Linked DNA regions of Homo sapiens: regions 1, 3 and 4 are each linked to region 2. The links are contacts of gene promoters, found by promoter capture Hi-C in blood cells and fetal thymus (Javierre and others, 2016). All regions are on one chromosome and are shown on one strand. Each heading gives the region's core, a stretch centred on a gene start or on the middle of the fragment in contact. The rest is flanking DNA. Distances are from core to core; before and after follow the strand shown. Region 1 has its middle 5.4 kb from the start of KLHL9. Region 2 holds the start of HAUS6 (HAUS augmin like complex subunit 6). Region 3 overlaps MTAP (methylthioadenosine phosphorylase). Region 4 has its middle 6.1 kb from the start of IFNW1.

The links. Contacts are between HindIII fragments. The CHiCAGO score rates a contact against its expected background, and 5 or more counts as called.
Region 1: a fragment that was not itself captured here is called in contact with the fragment with the promoter of HAUS6 in region 2 in 1 of 17 cell types (total CD4 T cells); the score reaches 5.1 in total CD4 T cells.
Region 3: a fragment that was not itself captured here is called in contact with the fragment with the promoter of HAUS6 in region 2 in 1 of 17 cell types (activated CD4 T cells); the score reaches 7.6 in activated CD4 T cells.
Region 4: a fragment that was not itself captured here is called in contact with the fragment with the promoter of HAUS6 in region 2 in 1 of 17 cell types (M0 macrophages); the score reaches 5.0 in M0 macrophages.

Annotation. Positions count from the first base shown.
Region 1 is chr9:21,339,286-21,342,363 of GRCh38, forward strand. No RefSeq gene overlaps it. Among named protein-coding and RNA genes, the nearest start is that of KLHL9, 5.4 kb to the left of the region's middle. The HindIII fragment of the contact is 1,481 bases long and covers 521-2,001 here.
Region 2 is chr9:19,101,217-19,104,213 of GRCh38, forward strand. HAUS6 (HAUS augmin like complex subunit 6) reads right to left here and starts at 1,688. Exons shown (of 17, transcript NM_017645.5): 1 at 1,308-1,688. The coding sequence starts at 1,435. RefSeq lists an enhancer at 1,367-1,930. The HindIII fragment of the contact is 8,228 bases long and covers 1-2,997 here.
Region 3 is chr9:21,803,086-21,806,208 of GRCh38, forward strand. The region is part of intron 1 of MTAP (methylthioadenosine phosphorylase); the gene reads left to right. Among named protein-coding and RNA genes, the nearest start is that of MTAP, 2.0 kb to the left of the region's middle. RefSeq lists enhancers at 184-393, 2,052-2,196 and a cis regulatory region at 2,124-2,125. The HindIII fragment of the contact is 318 bases long and covers 1,092-1,409 here.
Region 4 is chr9:21,146,421-21,149,437 of GRCh38, forward strand. No RefSeq gene overlaps it. Among named protein-coding and RNA genes, the nearest start is that of IFNW1, 6.1 kb to the left of the region's middle. The HindIII fragment of the contact is 1,199 bases long and covers 771-1,969 here.

The sequences.
Region 1 (3,078 bases), core at 11-2,510, 2.2 Mb after region 2:
ATGGGGATGCTTCTAGGGAAGTGTATTTAGCTGCCATGCAGAGAATGTCTGCAAACCACCACGTTGTGAGTTTATTGATTCACTGGTTTCCTATTCTCTACTGCCTAGTCATGAAACCCACTCATACTTTGGTAACATTTTATAAATTTCTCTCTTAGCAGAGATGATATGAGGAGTGATCTGCGGATCAGTATTGATAAGAGATGTCTTGAAGACATCCATTTAGTGAATGGTGAGGGGCAGAGATAGGATTCATAGCTGGTTCTACCTGTATGTACAGTGTTCTTTTCTCTGTGTTTAATGTATCTAAGTTAGACTTTGTTGTTTGTCATGAATGCAGAATTGACAAGAGCACTCAATACTAAGAAGGCATTAAAAGAAAACATTGTTTTTGATTTCTTTCATCAGTGTTAAGAAAGAACAGGGAAAGAAAAAATCTATTATTATGTGCCATCTATAAAATAAATAATATGTTACATGTTTTAATCCACCAGTTACAGTGTAAATAGTAATACTATCAAGCTTACTTTATCAATGAAGAAAGCAGGACGCTGAGAGAAAAGGTGATCCACGTAGAGTGCACAAGTGATTGGCAGAGTTAGGATTTGAGTCTAGGTGTGCTGATGGAAAACTTCATGCACTCAGTGGATATCATGTTTCCCCAAGGTTGGGGGCTATCAGGATCGGGTAGGTTCTTCTTTCTTTCTCTTCTTCACAAGTTACCCTGTTGGAGACCCAAACTCACAGCGTCTGCCCTACTCACTGTGCTTCACTCATTTCCTCAATTATTGTCTTACCTGCCTGTGGCATCTGTCTGGGTCACAGACAGACCTCCTATCACCTGCATAAGTGCAGTGAAGAACTCAGGTACCCCAAGGATTCTGAGGGGTTGAGTAACACATAAATCTTCAGTAAAGAGACGGGCCTGAATAGGACTTCTTACAAGTTTAGCACCAACCATGTCCAGAGTGCCTAGCTGGCCTCACTGGAGAAAAGGATTACTCATGAAATCCTCTTGGTCTATTTTCTCCTGTCCTTTGTGAAATGGTGAAGAAAATAATAGACCCCAAACTGTTCTCAGCTCACATATTCTCCTTTTTAGCTGTGGCCTTTGGGCAAGTCTTTTTCCCTCAGAGATAGATGCCTGCTCACAGGGTCTGAGCCGTAAGTAGGAGGAAGTCAAAAGGTATGTGCAGAACAATCTACAAAGTGCTATGTGGTGGTTAGTGGTTATTTCTCTAAACACATCTAATTGTATTGATTCAGACTGTTGATCGAGCTTGCCATGCTATTTTAGACAGCACAATTTAGTGACTAAAGGGTATGACTCTAGAGCCAGAGTTCCTGGTTTGGATTCCAGCTCTGCTATTTAATAGCAATATGACCATGGCAAGTACCATGAACATTATGCTCCCTAGTTTCCTCGTCTGTAATATGGGAAGAATAATAGTATTGATCTCATAGGATTATTGTAACAATCAGATTAATAAATACGAAATGGCTGAAACTACCTAGCAAAAATAATCACTGCTGTTAGAAGCGAGAGTGTCTATCCCCAGGGCAGAGGCAGAAGAGTTGGTCTTACTTAGGTACTGACTGGCACAGAGCACTAGAGAGGCTTCTAAGTCCTGAGCAAACTGTTTCTGACATGCTGCTACTTTCACAATGTATTCAGTGTGTGAGGAACCATGTCACTGTGTGCGTAAGACGTGTATACTTTCATTCTGTGTGTTATGCTTTCAAAAATGAGTTGCTTTTTAAAAAACAATTGTGCTAGAAAAAATTCCTGGGATAGCTTAAGATTTCCAAAGACTAGTGGGATCCAAGCCAATACATATATATATATTTCATCTATCTAAATAGCTATTATTAACCTGATATCTAATCTATATTTACCTATCTATATCTATATTTATCTATATCTATCTATGTGTACATATCAGATCAAAGTTTTTCCAGGGGCTCGCCATTGCTTTCCATGTTGGCTCTACACAAGAGAGAAGCTTGTCCCCAGGTTCACCTGAGATGGGATGGGGAAGTGGCTGATGAAAAGGTATTGAAAGGCTGTCCTGTTCAAGTGTGCTGAACTCCCTTCATCAGCCAATTCATAACCCTGAATCACAATGTTTGGGATTTTACTCTGAAGACCTCTCTCACACTCAGATAAATTATTTGTGACCTTTGGTTAGAAGCCCTAGGCCCTGCTGTCTCCCCTGACCTGCCTTGCCTGTTCTCTAAGTCTAATGATGTTCTCATCTTTTCCCAGTACTCTCATTCCTGATGTATCTGTGTTCCAATAATTAATTCAGAATAATGGAAAATGATATTTGGGCCCTTTTCTTTACCTTGCCTAATTGATGTCTCTGCTTTCTACGAACAGTGGTAGTAAGTCAGATGTGGGTATATCAATCCTAATCCCAAGAACCACAACATTTTTATTCTTTCCCCAGCACCTCCTTACCCCTCAAGTTAGAGACCACATCTTTAATCTGACCCTCTGGCCTAATGTGCACACAGCCACCTATCTTCCAATTTAACCCTCCCTAACTCCCTCTAAATGTGCTGGCAGGAGTCAGCTCATCACAATTGAGAAATTTTGGCACATCATTACTGGAAGATGATTGCTTTTGTCCTTCAAACAGTCAATTGGCCAAGACAGCAGAGTGTTGCTGTGATTGAACTAGGTTGTCAGCAGTGATCTCCTCTTTTTTTGATCTGGTACTAACGTCAATATTTTCATAGCCTTCAGATGATAGGAGCAAAAATTTATGTTCAGTGTGTGAGCGTGGGCAGGGGTTGGGTAAATTATCCTTTGCAAAATTTTTATGTTGAATAGCAAAATTAATTTTATTTTTCCAAATGTGGATTATATCTACGTTGAATTCAATTCATTAAATTGCTGAATACTTTTTATGCTTTAAGTTTCTAAGCTGGCCACAGGGGATTTTATGATGATTTTGCTTCCATCAGATTACATTGTTCTCATTGGTTTCAAAGAACTTCTTGATTTCTGCCTTAATTTCTTTATTTACCCAGGAGTCTTTCAGGAGCAGGTTGCTCAATTTCCATGTAATTGTG
Region 2 (2,997 bases), core at 438-2,937:
AACTATGAACATAAATAAAACAGGCCAGGCTCGGTGGCTCACATCTGTAATCCCAGCACTTGGAGTGGCCAAGGCGGGGGGATTGCTGGAGGCCAGGAGCTCAAGACCAGCCTGGGCAACATGCCGACCCTAGGCATGGTGCCACGCACCTGTAGTCCCAGCTACTCAGGAGGGTGAAGTGGGAGGATCGCCTGAGCCCAGGAGTTGGAGGCTGCAGTGAGCTGTGATCGCACAACTGCACTCCAGACTGGGCGACAGAGTGGGAGACCCTGTCTCAAAACAAAAAACAATGGCTCATATCTATAATCCCAGCACTTTGGAAGACCGAAGCAGGAGGATTGCTTGAGCCCAGGAATTTTGAGACCAGCCTGGGCAACATGGTTAGCTACTGTCTCTAAAATAATAATACTTTAAAAAAATAGAGGCCGGGCACGGTGGCTCACGCCTGTAATCCCAGCACTTTGGGAGGCCGAGGCAGGTGGATCATGAGCTCAGGAGATCGAGACCATCCTGGCCAACATGGTGAAACCCCGTCTCTACTAAAGATACAAAAATTGGTTGGGCGTGGTGGCAAGTGCCTGTAATCCCAGCTACTCGGGAGGCTGAGGCAGGAGAATCGCTTGAACCAGGGAGTTGGAGGGTGCAGTGAGCCGAGATCGTGCCACTGCACTCCAGCCTGGCAACAGAGGGAGACTCCATATGAAAGAAAAGAATTCCTCTTGGCCTACAGTGGGAATGATTAAATAGAGATACTGGCTAAAGTTGATAAAACAGAAGTGGAAAAAGTAGGGAAGGGGCTTTTACTTTCCATACTTTTCTTAAAAGGGTATTTGTTTTTAATACCCTTCTCCGTTGTTTTATGCTAACTCCAACATGCCTTACTAATTAAAAAATTAAAAATTATAAAATTAAACAACCACCTTCAAAGGCTCCCTTGAGTCCAAAAGGTGTTTTGTACATATGGTTCCCATGCTCTTCCACTACCACCCGCCATCCCTCCCACTACTTCACAGACCACCCCTCCACCACATAGGCAGAGTTAAGCTGCTCCTCCAGTCTTGCACTCTCCCCATCTGCAGACTTTTGCACTCCCCTACAGAGCGCTTCCGGCACTCTTGCATTATTTACTGTCTGTCTCTGCCCCTAGGCTGGCAGCAACTGGGAGTAGGAACTTTGGAGCCAATGCCTGGCACAGAGTAACTGCTCAACCAATTCTGATTAATCAACCTCCGGGGTCTACAAAAGGGGGAGTCCCCCGGCGTCCCCCGGTTCAGGCTCCCTCGCCCCGCCGGCCCCGGCCTCCTTACACTCCGAGGTGCGTGTGCGACACGATCTTTCCGCAGGCAATGGTTGCCGGGCCTGGCTCGAAGCCGAGCGCCTGCAGATACATCCAGAGATGCTCCTTCTCGAAAGCGGTGACCGAGGCCGAGCTCATCCTCGCGGTAGGCACGGTGGCTGCAAAGAAAGAAAGCGCAAGCCCAGGGGACTCGGAGGGCCCTCAAGATCCCTCCCTACGGTCAGCCTGAGGTCGCGGTGGTCCTTCCATTGCCAACGCCTGCTCCTTTCACGCCCAGAGCGATTTCGCCTCAAAGGGCCTCACAACCTCCGGGAAATTGAGTTTCTAACGGTATAGTGCGGCCACCACTGCCTCAGCGAAGCCACCACAAACCGAGACTCCCGCCCTTAAGGAAGAGCAGTGTGCGCCGGCGCCGCCAGGCGTCCGAGGGAGGAGGGACTTCCGGCAAAGACTATATCTCCCGCCATGCAATGCGTCCTTCTCTCCTCCCTTCCGGCCATGCCCAGCCAAGAAACTGCAAGACCCACCGGGCATTGCGCGGCCAGCGACTTGCTCTGCGCTTGCTTAACCGCTGTCGTGCCCAGATCCTCGGGCCTTCGGGTTTCTGATTCTTGGTTAGTGGGGTCCATTTGCTTGTGTATCCTAGTTGTTACGTCACAAAAAAGCCATAAATGGAGCACTATGCCTCGGTGTAGAGTTAAAGCATTGGTTCCATCCTCCGCTATGCTCACTGTGACTCTAATCAAGTCACGTAATCTCTGAGCCTCATTTCTGTCGTTAGCGAAATCTATGTCCTCAAATGCCGGATGTTCCTTTTCCTGCTTTAAATGAAATCTGGCTCTATACTCCCCTGCAGTCCTGCAGTCTTTTTTTTTTTTTTTTTTTTTTTTGAGACGGGGTTTCGCTCTTGTTGCTCAAGTTGGGGTGCAGTGACGCGATTTCGGCTCACTGCAACCTCCGCCTCCCGGGTTCAAGCGATTCTCCTGCCTCAGCCTCCCGAGTAGCTGGGATTAACAGGTGTCCGCCACCACGCCCGGCTAATTTTTTTGTATTTTTAATGGAGACGGGGTTTCACCATGTTGGCTGGCTGGTCTCGAACTCCTGACCTCAGGTTATCTGCCGGTCTTGGCCTCCCAAAGTGCTGGGATTACAGGCGTGAGCCACTGCGCCTGGCCGCCTGCAGTCCTCTTAATTTTTTTTTTTTTTTTTTTTTTTTTTTTGAGACGGAGTCTAGCTCTGTCTCCCAGGCTGGAGTGCAGTGGCGCAATCTCGGCTCACTGCAAGCTCCGCCTCCCAGGTTCACGCCATTCTCCTGCCTCAGCCTCCCGAGTAGCTGGGACTACAGGCTCCCACCACCACGCCGGGCTAATTTTTTGTATTTTTAGTAGAGACGGGGTTTCACCCTGTTAGCCAGGATGGTCTCGATCTCCTGACCTCGTGATCCGCCCTCCTCGGCCTCCCGAAGTGCTGGGATTATAGGCGTGAGCCACCGCACCCGGCCCGTCGTCTTAATTGACAGCTGTTGCCTACCACAAACCCCACTGACAACAGGGCCTGGAAGTGGATTGGGTAACCTGCTTTTAAGTCTCATTGCTACCTCTGGCAATGATTGTCTCCTGCCTCACTAAAATCACCTTAATAAAAGAGAGAGAGGCGGGGCACAGTGGCTCACGCCTATAATCCCAGCACTTTGGGAGGCC
Region 3 (3,123 bases), core at 1-2,500, 2.7 Mb after region 2:
TTTAGAGAGAGAGGTCGTGGATGGGAGAGGCTGCACCCATGCCACCACCATTCCTGAGAACCACTCTTCTTCCAAGAAAGACACCCGGCTGGAGTCAGGAGGTGTCCGGGCGCCTGCAGCTTCTGTGACCGTCTCCTGGTGCCTTGCGGGACTCCAGCTTCCGCTCTCTGACTCTGCTTGTTGCCTGCGGCCCACGTGGGAGAACTGCTTACTTGCTCTTTTGTATGCTTCCGGCTTCTTTTTCCTCCAAACGTAGGCCTTCTCCGCGCTGAAGTTTTCCCCAGCAGCGTAATACTGTAAGAATTCTGAGACTTTCTTCGAAAAGGAGTACAGGCGTCCGTTTTTAGGGCTGCACTGTTTGGAGGCCTCTGGCTTGAAACTGCTTTGTTTTGCAGCCTTGCAAGTTAGAGTTCAATTTCCTTGTGCCCTAGGCCCTGAGAGGCCTTGATACAAGGGGTCATTGTGCGGTGGGAAGCTTTGTGCTGAGGAGGGCACGAGTTCTGAGAGTAGCAGCTGGCTTCCCTGGGGTTTTAAACACTTCTCTCCTGGTTAGTATTCCGAGAGAGAATTACAGCACGTAAAGAAAAATTGATGATAAAACTTAAGACCTCTTCTAGGCAGTTTATTACTGGCTAAGAATGCGTTCTTGTTTGATTTTTAGAAATTTTTGGCCTATGGGATAGGAAGGTCTGCGATCTTCTCCAAAGCATCTCGATTCCCTACACTCGACTGCAGTTTTCCCGGGAGAAGGCGAATTTCTGCGGTCAGTGTGTAATCAGCCAGATTAGTTTATTACGCCCTTGCAGGTTTAAATGAGCCACTTAGAATGAGAGGAATGGTGAAGGGTGTTGCATCCAGACTTATATATGAAACTTATTTTGTCATTTTGAAAAGAATCTTGCATCCAGCAAATATTTATAGAAGGCCTCTCCCCTGCCTTCATTGTTTGGCGGAAACAAGGCAGAAATGGTTTTCATGAAACTCGTGTGAAGTATGTGACTTCTCTTAGGTGCTCATCTATAAACTGAGAATTTTACTGCAGAATTTGCTAGGAGGGCTAGAATTATATTGTCTATGTTGCACATGGTAGAAGCTTATTAAGTGGTAGTGCTTATAAGTGGGGGAACTGAGATTAATTTTGAATGATCTTTTCCCCAAAAATTATTAAGTTATTGTGTTAGGTATCATTAGGCCACAACTTTTCACCTTATCCTTGCAGGAATACACTTCAAGCGCCATTAAAAATGGAGAAATGGTGTTTAAAACAGTCTTACTTTAATCTGGTTAGCATTCTCCCTGCCACAGGGTTTCCCTTCAAATTAATGCAGTGCATTTAAGTGCAGAATGGGCAATGGGATTCTCAGAGACCTGATGTAAATATTGAATAGTGTGTATTTTTGGTCTTGGCAAGCTTCTGGATATAAAATTAAGAGGTACATATGGTGCTAGGACTGCCTGCTGATTTCTCTTTTAATTTAGAACAGATGACAGCTTTGCCGTAGAGATTCCATGATGCCAGCACCGTATTCCCCAGACTTCTAAGGCAACATTCTGTATAGAAGATGTGAGGTGCCAGTGTCCAGAGCAAAATAGGTTAATAAAAACCACATCCTATTCCCAAATTATAGAATGATGGGGCTGGAGTGTTCCTTCAAGACCATCCATATAGCCACACAAACCCGTTTTGCGGGTGTAAAGTTGAGGCCCAGAAAGGTCAGCTAAGTATCCAGAATTACACAGCTGGACCTAGATAATGACAGAATTGGGCCTAGAGCCTGGCATTCCACCAACTAGATGTGAGGCATTTCTGAAATCTGAAGTGTGGTCTCTGCCCTGTTTTCTTGTGACCTAATGCACAATTAAAATGAGCACTTGATAGAATGTCCATCTTGAAGAGGGAGGCAGAGGGTATGCAGAAAGCAGGCTGCCTCCAGTGCCCACTGCACACCACCCAGGTATAGGTATAGGAGGCACATGTGTGTCTGAACCCCATTGGTGTCACTGGCAGGTCCTTTGAGAGGTTGCTGGATTTAAATACAGTAACATGTAACACACTCAGCCCAGTTCCAGGTACTCCTTTAATGTCAGCCCAAGTACCTCTCTTCTTAAAATAGAGATATTAACGGGGTGGATCTTAAATTCATTCTCAATTTTAGAGGTGCAGTTAACTCATGCAAGTGAAAGATTCCACTGAGTTTTGGATTGGCAGTATATTTGGCATATCTTTCAAATCTAGCCATCTACTGGTGGAATCCTATTCAAAAATATTTATTGAATACCTGCTAGACAATGGGGATGCAGCTTTGAGTAAGCGAGGCCTTTATTTATTTTCTTCAAGTTTATATTCTAGTCAGGGTGGGAAACCAACTGACATGAAAGTGAAACAGCAGTAAGATTCCATTGGGTGAGGGGTGTCAGAAAAGACTCCTAGGGAGGTGGATTTTAAGCTGTGCAGTAGTCTGCCTCCAAAATCTGTATGTTGAAACCTAATCGCCAATGTGATGGTATTAGAAGATGGGGCCTTTGGGCGTGATTGGGGTCATAAAGGTGGAGCCCTCATGAATGGAAGCAGTGCCCTTACAAAAGAGGCCCCAGAGAGCTGCCTTATTCCCTCTACTAAGTGAGAGGACACCATCTATGAGCCAAAACGTGGGCCTTCCTCAGACACTGAATCTGCTGTGACCTTGAACTTGCTAAGCCTCCAGACTATGAGAAATTTCTGCTGTTTATAAGCCACCCAGTCCTAAGATATTTTGTTATAGCAGCCTGAATGGACTTAAGCTGATAGTGAAAATAGGGATAAAGGGTAAAGATCCAAGTGAAGACCTGAGGAGAGAGATGGGGGTAGGAGAGCGAAAACCAAGATGTCGCAGAAGTGAGCTCAGTGTGGTAGGAATGGAAATCACGGATGCACAGTGAGAATTGGGTGGATGCAGCTCATAAGGCCATCCTTGTAGACCGCGATCAAGAATTTTGATTTTAAATGTTTTGGAAACTGTTGAAGGGTTAAGAGTGGGAGGCAGCATTTGATTTACATTTTAAAATGATTACTCTGGCTGTTGTATACAGAATAGCCTGTGGGCAGGGGAAGAGCTAAGAGATCAGGCCAGAAGTCTTGGTGCT
Region 4 (3,017 bases), core at 120-2,619, 2.0 Mb after region 2:
AGGAGTTCAAGACCAGCCTGAGCAACATAGCAAGACATTGTACATACAAAAATAATTAGCTGGGCATTGTGGTATGCACCTGTAGTTCCAGCTACTCCGAAGGCTGAAGTGGGAAGATCGCTTGAGCCCAGAAGCTGGAGATTATAGTGAGCTATGATCCTCCCACTGCATTCCAGCATGGGTGACAGAGTGAGACCCTATCTCTAAAACAAAGTAAAATAAAATAATAATCACCATTAATGGATAAAATGATCAAGGCATTTTTTGGAATAGTTTCAATAGGATTGGTATCCATTCTTCTTTTTTTGTCCAGTAGAATTTGGCTGTGAATCCATCTGATGCAGGGCTTTTTATTGTTGGTAAGTTTTTTCTTTGTTTGTTTGTTTGTTTTTTAGTATTGATTCAATTTCACGACTTATTATGGGTATGTTCGAGTATTCAATTTCTTCTTGATTCAATCTTTGGAGGTTAAATGTTTCCAGGAATGTATCCATTTATTCTAGGTTTTCTAGTTTGTGTTCATAGAAGTGTTCAAAACACTCTCTGAAGTTTTTTGTATTTCTGTGAGGTTGGTGTAACATCACTTTTGTCATATCTGTGTTTATTTGGATCTTCTCTCTTTTTCTCTTCATTAATTTAGCTAGCAGTATGTCAACCTTATTTATTCTTTCAAAAATCAAACCTTTGTTTTCGTTTCTTTTTTGTATAGATTTTCACATCTCAATTTCTTTCAGTTGAACTCTGATTTTGGTTATTTCTTTTCTTCTGCAAGCTTTGGAGTTGTTCTACTCTTGTTTTCCTAGTTCTTTTTGGTGTGATGTTAGCTTGCTAATTTGGGATCTTTCTGACTTTTTGATGTAGCCATTTAATGCTATTAATTTTACTCCTAATACTGATTTAGCTGTGCCCCAGAGATTCTGAAGGGTTGTATCTTTGTTTTCATTAGTTTCCAAGAATTTCTTGATTTTTGCCTTAATTTCTTTGTTTACCTGAAAGTCATCCAGGAATAGGCTGTCTCATTTCCATGTAGTTACATGGTTCTGAGAGAGCTTCTTGGTATTAATTTCAATTATTATTGCACCATGGTCCAGGAGTGTGCTTGGTATGATTTTTTTTTTATTTTGTTGAGAATTGCTTTATGGACAAGCACGTGGTTGACCTTAGAGTATGCACTATGTGCAGACGAGAATGTGTACTCTGCTGTTGTTGGGTGGAGTGTTCTGTAGATATCTGTTAGGTACATTTGATCAAGTGTTGCATTTAGGTCTCAAATATATTTGTTAGTTTTCTGCCTTGTTGATCTGTCTAACACTGTCAGTGGGGTTTGGAAGTCTTTTGCTATTATTGTGTAGTTATCTAAGTCTCTTTGTAGGTCTCTAAAAACTTATGAATCTGGGCACTCTAGTTTTGGGTGCATATATATTTAGGGTAGTAAGTCTTCTTGTTAAATCGAGCTCTTTATGTAATGCCATTTTTTGTTCTTGTTGATTATACTGGTTTAATGTCTGTTTTATTTGAAATAAGAATAATAACCTTTACTCTCTTTTTTTTTTCTGTTTGTTTGATAGATCTTTCTCCATCTCTTTACTTTGAATCTGTGGATATCATTGCATGTGAGATGGGTTTCTTGATGACAGCATACATTTGGATATTGCTTCTTTATCCATCTTGCTACTCGGTCTTTTAAATGGGGGCATTTAACCCATTTACATTCAAGGTTAATATTGACATGTGAGGATTTGATCCTGTCATTGTGTTGTTAGCCTGCTGTTATATAGAGTTGGGCTGCAGTTGGTTTATAGTGTCAGTGGGCTAGGTACTTAAGTGTGTTTTTGTGGTGGCTGGTAATAGTCTTTCATTTCCATGTTAAATACTTCCTTAAGGACCTCTTGTAAGGAAGGTCTGGTGGTAACAAATTTCTTTAGCATTTGTTTATCTGAAAAGGATTTTATTTCTCCTTTGCTAAGGAAGCTTAGTTTGGCTGGATATAAAATTCTTGGTTGGAATTTCTTTTCTTTAAGGATGCTGAATATAGGCCCGCAATCTCTTCTGGCTTGTAAGGTTTCTGCTGAAAGGTATGTTGTTAGCCTGATGGGGTTCCCTTTATAGGTGACCTGCCCCTCCTCTCTAGCTTTCTTCAATATTTTTTCTTCCATGTTAATGTCAAAGAATCTGATGACTATGTGTCTTTGGTATGTTAATTTTGTATAGTTTCTTGCTGGGGTTCTCTGAATTTCCTCAATTTGTATGTCAACTTCTTTAGAAAGGTTGGGGAAGCTCTGAGTCTTCAAGCTCTGAGATTCCTTCCTCAGCTTAGTCTATTCTGCTGTTAATACTTCTGATTGTGTTATATAATTCTTGTAAGAGTTTTTCAGCTTTAGAAGATCAGCTGTTTCTTTTTTGAAATGGCTATTTCATCTTTCAGCTCTTGTATTATTTTATTGGATTCTTTATATTCCTTGGATTGGATTTCAACTTTCTATTGAATATCAATGGTCTTCATTTCCATACAGATTCTGAATTCTATGTCTGTCATTCTAGCCATCAATTAAGAACCACTGCTGGGAAGCTAGTGTGGTCATTTGGAGGTAAGAAGACACTCTGGTTTCCAGAAGTGCCTGAGTTCTTGTGCTGATTCTTTCTCATCTGTATAGGTTGATATTCCTTTAATCTTTGAAGCTGCTGTCCTTTGGGTGGGGTTTTAAAATTTTACATTCTTTGAAGCTCTTGAGAGTTTGACTATGGTATAAGTTGGGTTTAGTTGATTGGTTTCATTTCTGGATGATTTCAGGGGTACAAGTTTCAGCTCAGCACTCCTGAACTTCATGTTTTAATGCTGGGGTGTGGGGGTACTGGGATCAGGACTATGGCTTTTTTTCTGTGGTCCCTCAAGGTTAAGCATTTGATATGCTGGAGGGGCCAAGGTGTTCCTTGTATGCTGGCAACAGCACTCCAATGAGGGGTGCTGCCAAAAATACTTCATAGGGGAGGTGGTGGGCAGCAGGGGCCCCCATGTA